Regions from separate parts of the Homo sapiens genome. Here regions 1 and 2 are each linked to region 3. The links are contacts of gene promoters, found by promoter capture Hi-C in blood cells and fetal thymus (Javierre and others, 2016). All regions are on one chromosome and are shown on one strand. The core of a region is centred on a gene start or on the middle of the fragment in contact, and the rest is flanking DNA. Distances in the headings are between cores, read along the strand shown. Region 1 has its middle 9.1 kb from the start of RPTN. Region 2 holds the start of TCHHL1 (trichohyalin like 1). Region 3 holds the start of LCE5A (late cornified envelope 5A).

Region 1 (3,091 bases), core at 475-2,974, 360 kb before region 3:
TGTCATCACTCTTAAGTTCATGCTTCCTTAGATCCCTAGCAGCCAAGCTCTTTGTAACAGTGTAACAAGGGTGACCTTTGCTCCAGTTCCCAAAAAGTTTCTCATTTCCATCTGAGACCTCATCAGCCTGGGCTTCACTGTTCATATTTCAATCAGTATTTTGGTCACAACCACTTAGCAAGTCTTGGAGAAGTTCCAAACTTTCCCTTATCTTCCTGTCTTTTTCTGAGACCTCCAAATTCTTCCAGTATCTGCCCATTACCCAGTTCCAAAGCTGTTTCCACATCTTCAGGTATCTTTATAGCAACACCCTACTCTCAGTACCAATTTTCTGTATTAGTACATTTTGCATTGTTATAAGAAATAATAAAAGACTGGGTAATTTATAAAGAAAGGAGGTTTATTTTGGATCATAGCTCTTCAGATTGTACAAGAAGTGTGATGCCAGCATCTACTTCTGGTGAAAGCATTAGGAAGCTTTTAGTCATGGTGGAAAGTGAAGGGCAAACAGGCATGTCACATGGCAGGAGAGAGAGCAAAAGAGAGAAGGAAGAGGTCCCAGGCTCTTTTAAACAACCAGATCTCACATGACCTCATGGAGTGAGAACTCACTCATTACCACAAGGACATCACCAAGACATTCATGAAGAATCTGCCCCTATGACCCAAATACCGCCCACTAGGCCCCACCTCCAACATTGGGGATCACACTTTAATGTGAGATTTGGAAGAGACACATACCCAAATCATATCAAAATGTATTTGTTAAGCTTCTATTAAAATAATGTAGGAGAAGAAAAGATAATGCATACCAAGTAAATGAACAAGGAGAGATCAGATTATAAATCACTTTTGTATATATCATCTGTATTTATCTCTAAGAAACTTTAGAATTTTTAAACTTTGGAATTTTTTCTTCAGCTTTTATTTTTAGCTTTAGAGGGTACATGTGTAAGTTTGTTACATAGACATATTGCGTGACAGTGAGGTTTGGGGTATGAATCCCATCATCCAGGTGTTGAGCTTAGTACCCAATAGGAAGTTTTTCAATGTACACTCATTTCCCTCCTTCCCCACTCTAGTGGTCCCCAGTGTATATTGTTCCCATCTTTATGTCCATGTGTACTCAGTGTTTAGCTCCCACTTATAAGTGAGAACATGTGGTATTTTGTTTTCTGTTTCTGCATTAATTTGCTTAGAATAATGGCCTGTAGCTGCATCCATATTGCTGCAAAGGACATGATTTTGTTCGTTTTTTATGGCTGTGTAGTATTCCATGGTGTATATGTACTATATTTTCTTTATCCAATCCACCATTGATAGGAATCTAGGTTGATTCCATGTCTTTGCTATTGTGAATAATGCTGCAATAAACATATAAGTGCATGTGTCTTTTTGGTAGAAGTCTTTATTTTCTTTTGGGTATGTACCCAGTAATGGGATATAGCTCTGTTTTAAGTTCTTTGAGAAATCTTCAAACTGCTTACCATGGTGGTTGAATTAATTTATATTCCAACAACAGTGTATAAGTATTCTCTTTTCTCCACAGCCTTGCCAGCATCAGTTATTTGTTGACTTTTTAATAATAGCCATTCTGACTGGTGTGAGATTGTATCTTATTGTGGTTTTGATTTGCATTTCTCTGATGATTAATGATGAGCATTTTTTCATGTTTGTTGGCTGGCTGCTTGTATGTTTTCTTTTGAAAAGTGTTTCTCAAGTCCTTTGCCCATTTTTTAATAGGGTTATTTGTTTTTCTCTTGTTGATTTAAGTTCCTTATAGATATTGAATATTGGACCTTTGTTGGATTAATAGTTTGCAAACATTTTCTCCCATTTTGTAGGTTTTCCATTTACTCTGTCTGTGGCTTCTTTTGCTGTGCAGAAGCTCTTTAGTTTGATTAGGTTCCACTTGTTAATTTTTGTTTTTTAAACTGGATTTTTAAACCCCATTTTACAGATGCAAAAACTGAGACTTAAAGAGACAATTTTTTTTAAGATCATAAAATTGGTAAGTGGTGAAGGCAGGTTTTAAATATAAGTCTTTTAAAAATTTTAAATCTCAGCTTCATGTATGTAATTGGTCAGTCACTGTGCTCGATGTGAAATATACAACTGTGAATAAGATGCAATTTCTGACTTCTGGGACCTTACTGCTTGGTGGGAAACACATGGGTTTAAAATTTACTTCAATGCAATCTGATAAGCTGTATGCTGATGATAGGTGCAGAAGGTGGTGCCAGTCCCAAGAATGGGTAGGATTTTGGCAGACAAAGATCAGGACAGCGTTTAAGTGGAAGAAATTGTATAAGCAATGACGTGGAGGCTAGGAAGTTGTCCTGTTAAGTTGGAGTCTAGGGGCATTGTTGGAAACTGAGTTGGAAATGTACACTGAAGCCAGATCATGGAGGGCTTCTATGAGCATTCAACCAACACTTATTTATTGGATGTACATCATGACAAGCTATTGTCCGAAATGCAAGAGAACAGCAGCAAACAAGACAAACAAAATCCTTGTTCTTATGGGCCTTACATTCCAGTAGGGAGAAAAAGATAATAAATGAGTAGCATAAAAACAAGGTATCAAACATGAAAAGTGTTAAGAACATTGGCAGCACAAATGAGGAATATATGGTAGAGGCTGATTGGGGTGATACTTTTTTAAAATAAATGCCAGAGAAAGCTTCTGTCACGAGGTGACTTTTTAACTGAGACCTGAATGAAATAAGGATTGAGCCACACCAAGATCGAGAAGAAGACTATTCTGATCAAAAGAAATAGCTGGTTCAAAGGTCTCCCGGTGGGGATCAGCTTGTCCTGCTAGAATCATGGAAAGAAGGCCAGAGTGATTAGAAAACAGTGATGCAGAGGACAATGGTGAAAGATGAGACTTTGCAGGGCCCCATCCTATAGGAAGGTCCTGAGAACAAAGCTGGATTTTATTCTCAATGTGGAGGGAAACTACTGGGAATTTCATGTAGGGAGTGGCACAATGTGGTCTACCTTTTTGAAAGGGATGGGGAGTCCCATCAGGAAGCTGTGTTCTAGGAGAGGTGACCTGGACTGGGATGACAGGAGTAGAGATGAAAAG
Region 2 (2,942 bases), core at 85-2,584, 420 kb before region 3:
TTGTGAGTCTTGGCTTCTCTCCATGGGTCCACTCTGTTATTTCCAACTGCTCCACTTTCTTCAGGGATGAGCTGAGATGATGATGCCATTCCTGAAGGAAGCATCCTCTTTTCTTGAGTTGGTGAAGTTCCCACTGTCCACTGACCATCTCCGGTGGTTGCCTGAACATCCACATCATCTAGCTTCTCCTTCTCTGGTTTAGTCACCTGTCTTAGTTCAGAACTTAGTAATGATTTTATGTCAAGATAACAGAGGTTCAACAAGTTGAAGATTGCAAGAACAAATTCATCAAAACTGATGATGCCATTACTGTCAATATTCAGAAGATTTGAATTTTTTTCCACAGCATGAAGGACACAGGGCTGCATGAAAACACAGTGAGAAATCAGCTTATTTATATGTGGTCCAGTGTCCTAAGTGTCTCCCAAGAATCCTATTTTTCTGACCTCATTCCTCAGTAACTGGTTAACTTTCCCAGAACAGCAAGAACTTATTGGTTCTGCAAGCCATTTTTCATCAGAGAGCTATGCCTGAGAAAGAGCATTTACAACACTTGTGAGTTGCATTTTGATGCATAATGGTTTATGACTCCTTTCAGAAGTCAGCTTTGCAGAAGCAATAATCCCAGTGACGAAAACCTCTTTTTCTCTAAGTAATTGCACAGAGTATGGAACTGAGACTGAAAATAGTTGTTCAAGAGACAGTGAGTGCTGAGAACTGTTAGCTAGGTGTAAAATGGATGGGGATCACATATGCTCATCTTGCTTGGATTATAAAGAAAGGGTGAGTTGGAAAGAATTTACACAGCTCTGTGAGAAGCTCACCTGAAAAAAGTCCCCAAACTCGCCCTGGATGAGTTGTTTCAGCTCTCTGCCAGTCAGTGTTGCCCCGTTACTGTCCTCACTGGCATATTTGTGGAATGTCTCAATTACACAGAGGACATTTCTCAGGAGCTGAGGCATCTTTACAAACTCAGGAGAGGCTGTGAGAAAGAATAAACAAAGCTCATTTTCCAGGATGGGTCCTTCAGGGAGGAGATACCAAGATTATCCTTTTTGTTCCTCCCCCATCTCCACTGCAACCCCTGCTCTATTCTGTATCTTAAAATATTATATCTGAACTCCAGGGGTGATTTAGTATTGTACCAGACATTGTGGTGAAATCAGACCCAGCATAGGTAAGTATTAGAAGAGACAATTCACCCCACTCTTCAGTAAACAGCAACATTCATGTGCTCAGAGAAAGCTTCATTGCAAAAGGAAGGTGATAAGAGAACTCAAGCATAAGGATTGAAATGCATAAATGAAGCCAATAGAGTTGGACCCATTCTTCCAGCCTCATCCAAGAGTGTCTATCTGCTCTCCTCTCCCTTTGGCTCAGTCTAGCCTCCTGCGGTTAGGAGGGTATAACCTTTAAAGTTAGCAAAGCTTCTAGTGGAAAGATAAGTCACACCAAGAAAATTAACCCCTATGTTTGCAGGTGGTAACAACATGCTTTAACCAAGAAGACATGATTCCATGTCCCGACCCCTTATTCATTCATTTCCCATCCTTTAAATGCTTCTACATTTTCATTGCAATAGAGATCTGATCCTGTGCCTTGTTGAATAATATTCATGCCTATGACTTCTAAACAATTTATGTTTTTTTTAAAAAGAAAATGATCAAAGAAGTTCCATAATCAAGGAATGCATTTGGGTGGTTGGCGCTCCCAGTTTATTATTATTAATAGGGGTTGACATAGACTTAAAGTGTGTTTCCTTTGAAATCCTCTTGCAATCTCACATATAAGCAAAACAGCAACTGAAATCCCAAGTATGCTCAAGCAGATGGACTTACCTAGTTCACAAGCGAGAGCAGGTAGAACGTGGGGCAGCGGGCTGTGAGCTGACAGCAGGAGCTGGAACCTTTTATTGAGGTCCTAATTGCACAGTTAAGAAGGAGACACCCTCTGGGTCTAATGACCTGACATCACCACCAAATCCAGTCTCCCCTGCTCTGTTGTCAGTTGTCTTAATTTTATTTCCTTCTTTAGGCAGTTTCAATTAAATCTTAGCTTCAGATGCATCAAAAGAAAGGGGAGGGGGTTTCTTGATTCATTTACTGACTTTTGCAGATTATAGTTTTGAAGGCTCTTCAAGGTAGTGTTGGCTTCCCTCCCCCATTTTTTAACCTAAGGACATAATTACATTTCTGTCTGACAAATCATAGTGCTGGCAGGGACCTCATAAGTCATCTGATTCCTCTGTCTGCCCACAAGATGGCCCGTATTTGACCCAAACCTGAGAGATGGGTGTCAATCATGTGTTTAAAAATAAAGGCCCCCATTTAGCCATGTGACAAAAGTGGAGATACCAGTTGATTCAGATGTTTCAATGCTTTGCTCTCCTTGCCCAGAGGCAGAGTTAGAAAAAAAAAAAAATTCTTGCTTGGTGTGCAAAGCCTTGCTTACCTATGTTGTGCTATTTTAAAAACGTGATTGATATTTGCTTTCTAAAGACATTTTTACTATACAAGGAGCTTGAAACCAATAATCTATATTACTGTGTTCTCCCTGTAAAGGGGAAAGGGAGATGTTGAAATCATCAAGCTGAGAACAGAAGTGAGTCTGAGATGCTGAACTGGCAAACATTTTAATTGTCTCCTAGATCTGGGTCCTTCTTAGTAGAGAATATTTAATAAAATAAGAATTAGATTCAATGGTTTTCTTAGATATTTTTAAAAAATAGAGTATGTTTTAAAACACTCCTTGTCAAAGGATGGAAGAAATAGACAGATCAATGCAAACAAATATAAAAGACACAGACCAAGTTAAAGATGGGGTGGGAATGGGGGTAATTATATGAGAAAGCTGAAGCTAAGGGATGCATTGCTATTGAGCAAAAACCTTATTCTGAATTTCCTGATTATCGAGGAACATACAAGGGAACTAAATTTTGGGGA
Region 3 (2,934 bases), core at 388-2,887:
AAAACTCAAATAACAACAACAACAACAAAACCACTATATATAGAAAAAAATGACGGGAAGGAAAATAGCAAAATAGTAACCATATTTTAGGGATGGGATTATAGGTGATTTTAAAATTCTTCCTATTTTTTGGTGTTTTTAAATAATGAGTATGCTTTCTTTATAATCTCATTCCCTAGTGACAAGCAAATACTCTTAATATTTTGCTGTAAGAAAACATCGAGTCTAAGTTCTGATATCATAAAAATTAGTTTTGGTTTCAAAATTGGCAGGTCAGTAATTTGAAATTTAGCATATATTTTCTCATGGAAATAAGGATAGCCATAGTGATTAGTTTTTTCTTTTTTAAACTTGCAGTTCTAGGAACTGTGCTAAGAACTTCATCTGTATTTCTTTATTCAGTGGATTAGGAATGTTTTCAGCCCCCTTTTCCAGTGATGGTTAAGTAACTTGCCAGAGGTTGCACAGGTGGAGAGAGCAAGGGTGGGAACTGATGCTGGATGTCCCTCTCCAGGGTCTGTGTTATAACTGGGCTGATGCTTCTCACTGCAGCCCATTTCAAAGAGCATGGAGCTAAGGTACTGCCTTTTTCTCCCAGTCTTATTTTCTCTCACTGCAGCTTTCATTGTGAATATGCCATATTTTGGCCACCCTTTCCAGCTAAGTCAATTTTGATAACTATCCTGGGGACCCAACTTTCCCTCAGAATATTGTTTGCTGAGAAAATGTTTTGGATCCCACCATGGGCTTTTAAAACCTATATACTCCTCCTCTTCACCTCTCCATCCAAAGATTAATCTTCTCCTGAGGTCCTTCCCAGGTTGGATGCTCTTCTCTTATGAATGACCAGAACTGGTGCCTCACTTCTGGAAACCTCCAGATGAGTGGAGAGCTTTTGCTCCACCCTCAGTATACACCTGGTCTTTGCTGCCTCACCTCGAGCTGGCCAAGGGCACCTTCTTTAACACGAGTAAATAAGCCATTCCTAGACTTCTGCCCTTTTAAAGGCATTGTTAGTGCTGAATCGGTACTGTTTGTGAGCAGTTTTGGAGCATCAAATTCAGGCAAGGAGAGAAGCCCAACCACCCACACTGTCAGCATTAGATCTGCCTAAAATAACATCACTGAGATATCAAACCTTCCTTGTTCTGGTTATGGCATCATCTAGAAATGAAAAAAAAATCATGTTAGATTATTTGCTTGGGCCTACAATTTTATTTTGGATCTCTATTATTATTCTAAAAAGGGCCATTTAATTTCCATCTTGGGAATTTTCTCCTTCAGTTCCTATACCAAAGAGAAAACAGAACTTCTGTTCATTCCAGAGGTGTAGAGCCGTATTGGCCCAGCTCAGAAAATAGAAGGCATAGCAGAGCTGCCTGTGAGATAGATAGGTGCCATGTGCAATTCACAGAGCTCCCTCACCATCCTAGAGGCCTGCAGTTCTCAGGGGATCTTCCTGTGGGTTAATACTTGAGATGCTTATGCAGGGAGGAACTGGGTCCCTGGGATGCGAGGGGAGGGAGTCACCCATGCCTTTATGAAAGATGCTTCTAGCGTCCCGCACATGGTCTGCACCTCCTGATGCTAGGTCAGGACTGAATTGTATAAAAGGCAGAAGCTTCTGACAGCACCTCAGTCTACCTGTCTCCTGAGTGATCTGCTGCAGTGCCTGAACCAGGTAGAGTGCTTCTCAGGACCAGGATGAACTCTTGGTGCTGGTGTTTTGGGCAGAAAGAGCCCCTGGGTGGAGGTTGAGGCCATTCTTGAAGAAAGACAAGGATAAAGAAGGATTTTGGAGGGGAAGGTTCTTCTGGAAGGGGAGGGTGGAAGGTAGGTAAAAGGAATGAAGGACTGATGCCTTTCTGAAGTTCCAAGTTATTCATTTGAAAATATGGAGTTACTAGGTGGAAATCATTTGTATCATTCTTGTTACTGGTCTTGGGAGACTGGGTTTTTAAAATCTGGTTCATCTTAGGCCAGGAGTAGTGGCTCATGCCTGTAATCCCAGCACTTTGGGAGGCTGAGGTGGGCGGGTCAAGAGGTCAGGAGTTCGAGACTGACCAACATGCTGAAATCCCGTCTCTACTAAAAACACAAAAATTAGCTGGGTGTGGTGGTGCACACCTGTCTGAGGCAGGAGAATCACTTGAATCCGGGAGGTGGAGGTTGCAGTGAGCCGAGATAGCACCACTGCACTCCAGCCTGAGTGACAGAGTGAGACTCCATCCCAAATAATAATAATAATCATAATAATAAATTCTGGTCATCTTAGAGATAAAATCTTGTGAAATTATAGTTCAATTTTAAGGGCAAGGAAGTGACCTTGGGCTTGTATTGTCTTTCAGCTTTATTCAGCTTCTACAGAGATGTCCTGCCAGCAGAGCCAGCAGCAGTGCCAGCCTCCTCCCAAATGTACCCCTAAATGCCCTCCCAAGTGTACTCCTAAGTGTCCTCCCAAGTGTCCCCCAAAATGCCCTCCCCAGTGTTCAGCCCCATGCCCACCTCCAGTCTCTTCCTGCTGTGGTTCCAGCTCTGGGGGCTGCTGCAGCTCTGAGGGTGGTGGCTGCTGCCTGAGCCACCACAGGCCCCGCCAGTCCCTCCGACGCCGACCTCAGAGTTCCAGCTGCTGTGGCAGTGGCAGTGGCCAGCAGTCTGGGGGCTCCAGCTGCTGCCACAGCTCTGGGGGCTCTGGCTGCTGCCACAGCTCTGGAGGCTGCTGCTGACCTGGGCCATGAGGAGCACGGAGGAGAAGGACTGGCAGATCCCAGGTGCTGAAGATGTGTGTCAGCCTGAGGCTTCTTTTCTCTCATTTCCCATGGAAGGACTTCGGAAATGCCTTAAGTTCCCCTCTTTATCCTGCCCATGTTCACTCCATTGTAGGGTTGAAGTCTAGCTTGTGATATTTTCTGGCCTGGCTTTCCCTCTCAGACA

The links. The method cuts DNA at HindIII sites, captures the fragments that hold promoters and counts their contacts. A CHiCAGO score of 5 or more calls a contact.
Region 1: a contact is called between a fragment that was not itself captured here and the fragment with the promoter of LCE5A in region 3, in 1 of 17 cell types (total CD4 T cells). The highest score is 5.2, in total CD4 T cells.
Region 2: a fragment that was not itself captured here is called in contact with the fragment with the promoter of LCE5A in region 3 in 4 of 17 cell types (naive B cells, M0 macrophages, total CD4 T cells and 1 more); the score reaches 7.2 in naive B cells.

Annotation. Positions count from the first base shown.
Region 1 is chr1:152,148,618-152,151,708 of GRCh38, forward strand. No RefSeq gene overlaps it. Among named protein-coding and RNA genes, the nearest start is that of RPTN, 9.1 kb to the right of the region's middle. The HindIII fragment of the contact is 1,913 bases long and covers 769-2,681 here.
Region 2 is chr1:152,087,182-152,090,123 of GRCh38, forward strand. It overlaps TCHHL1 (trichohyalin like 1), which reads right to left and starts at 1,883. Exons shown (of 3, transcript NM_001008536.2): 1 at 1,839-1,883; 2 at 825-982; 3 at 1-362. The coding sequence starts at 962. The HindIII fragment of the contact is 182 bases long and covers 1,244-1,425 here.
Region 3 is chr1:152,509,166-152,512,099 of GRCh38, forward strand. It overlaps LCE5A (late cornified envelope 5A), which reads left to right and starts at 1,638. Exons shown (of 2, transcript NM_178438.5): 1 at 1,638-1,833; 2 at 2,349-2,934. The coding sequence starts at 2,370. The coding sequence ends at 2,726. The HindIII fragment of the contact is 1,377 bases long and covers 1,620-2,934 here.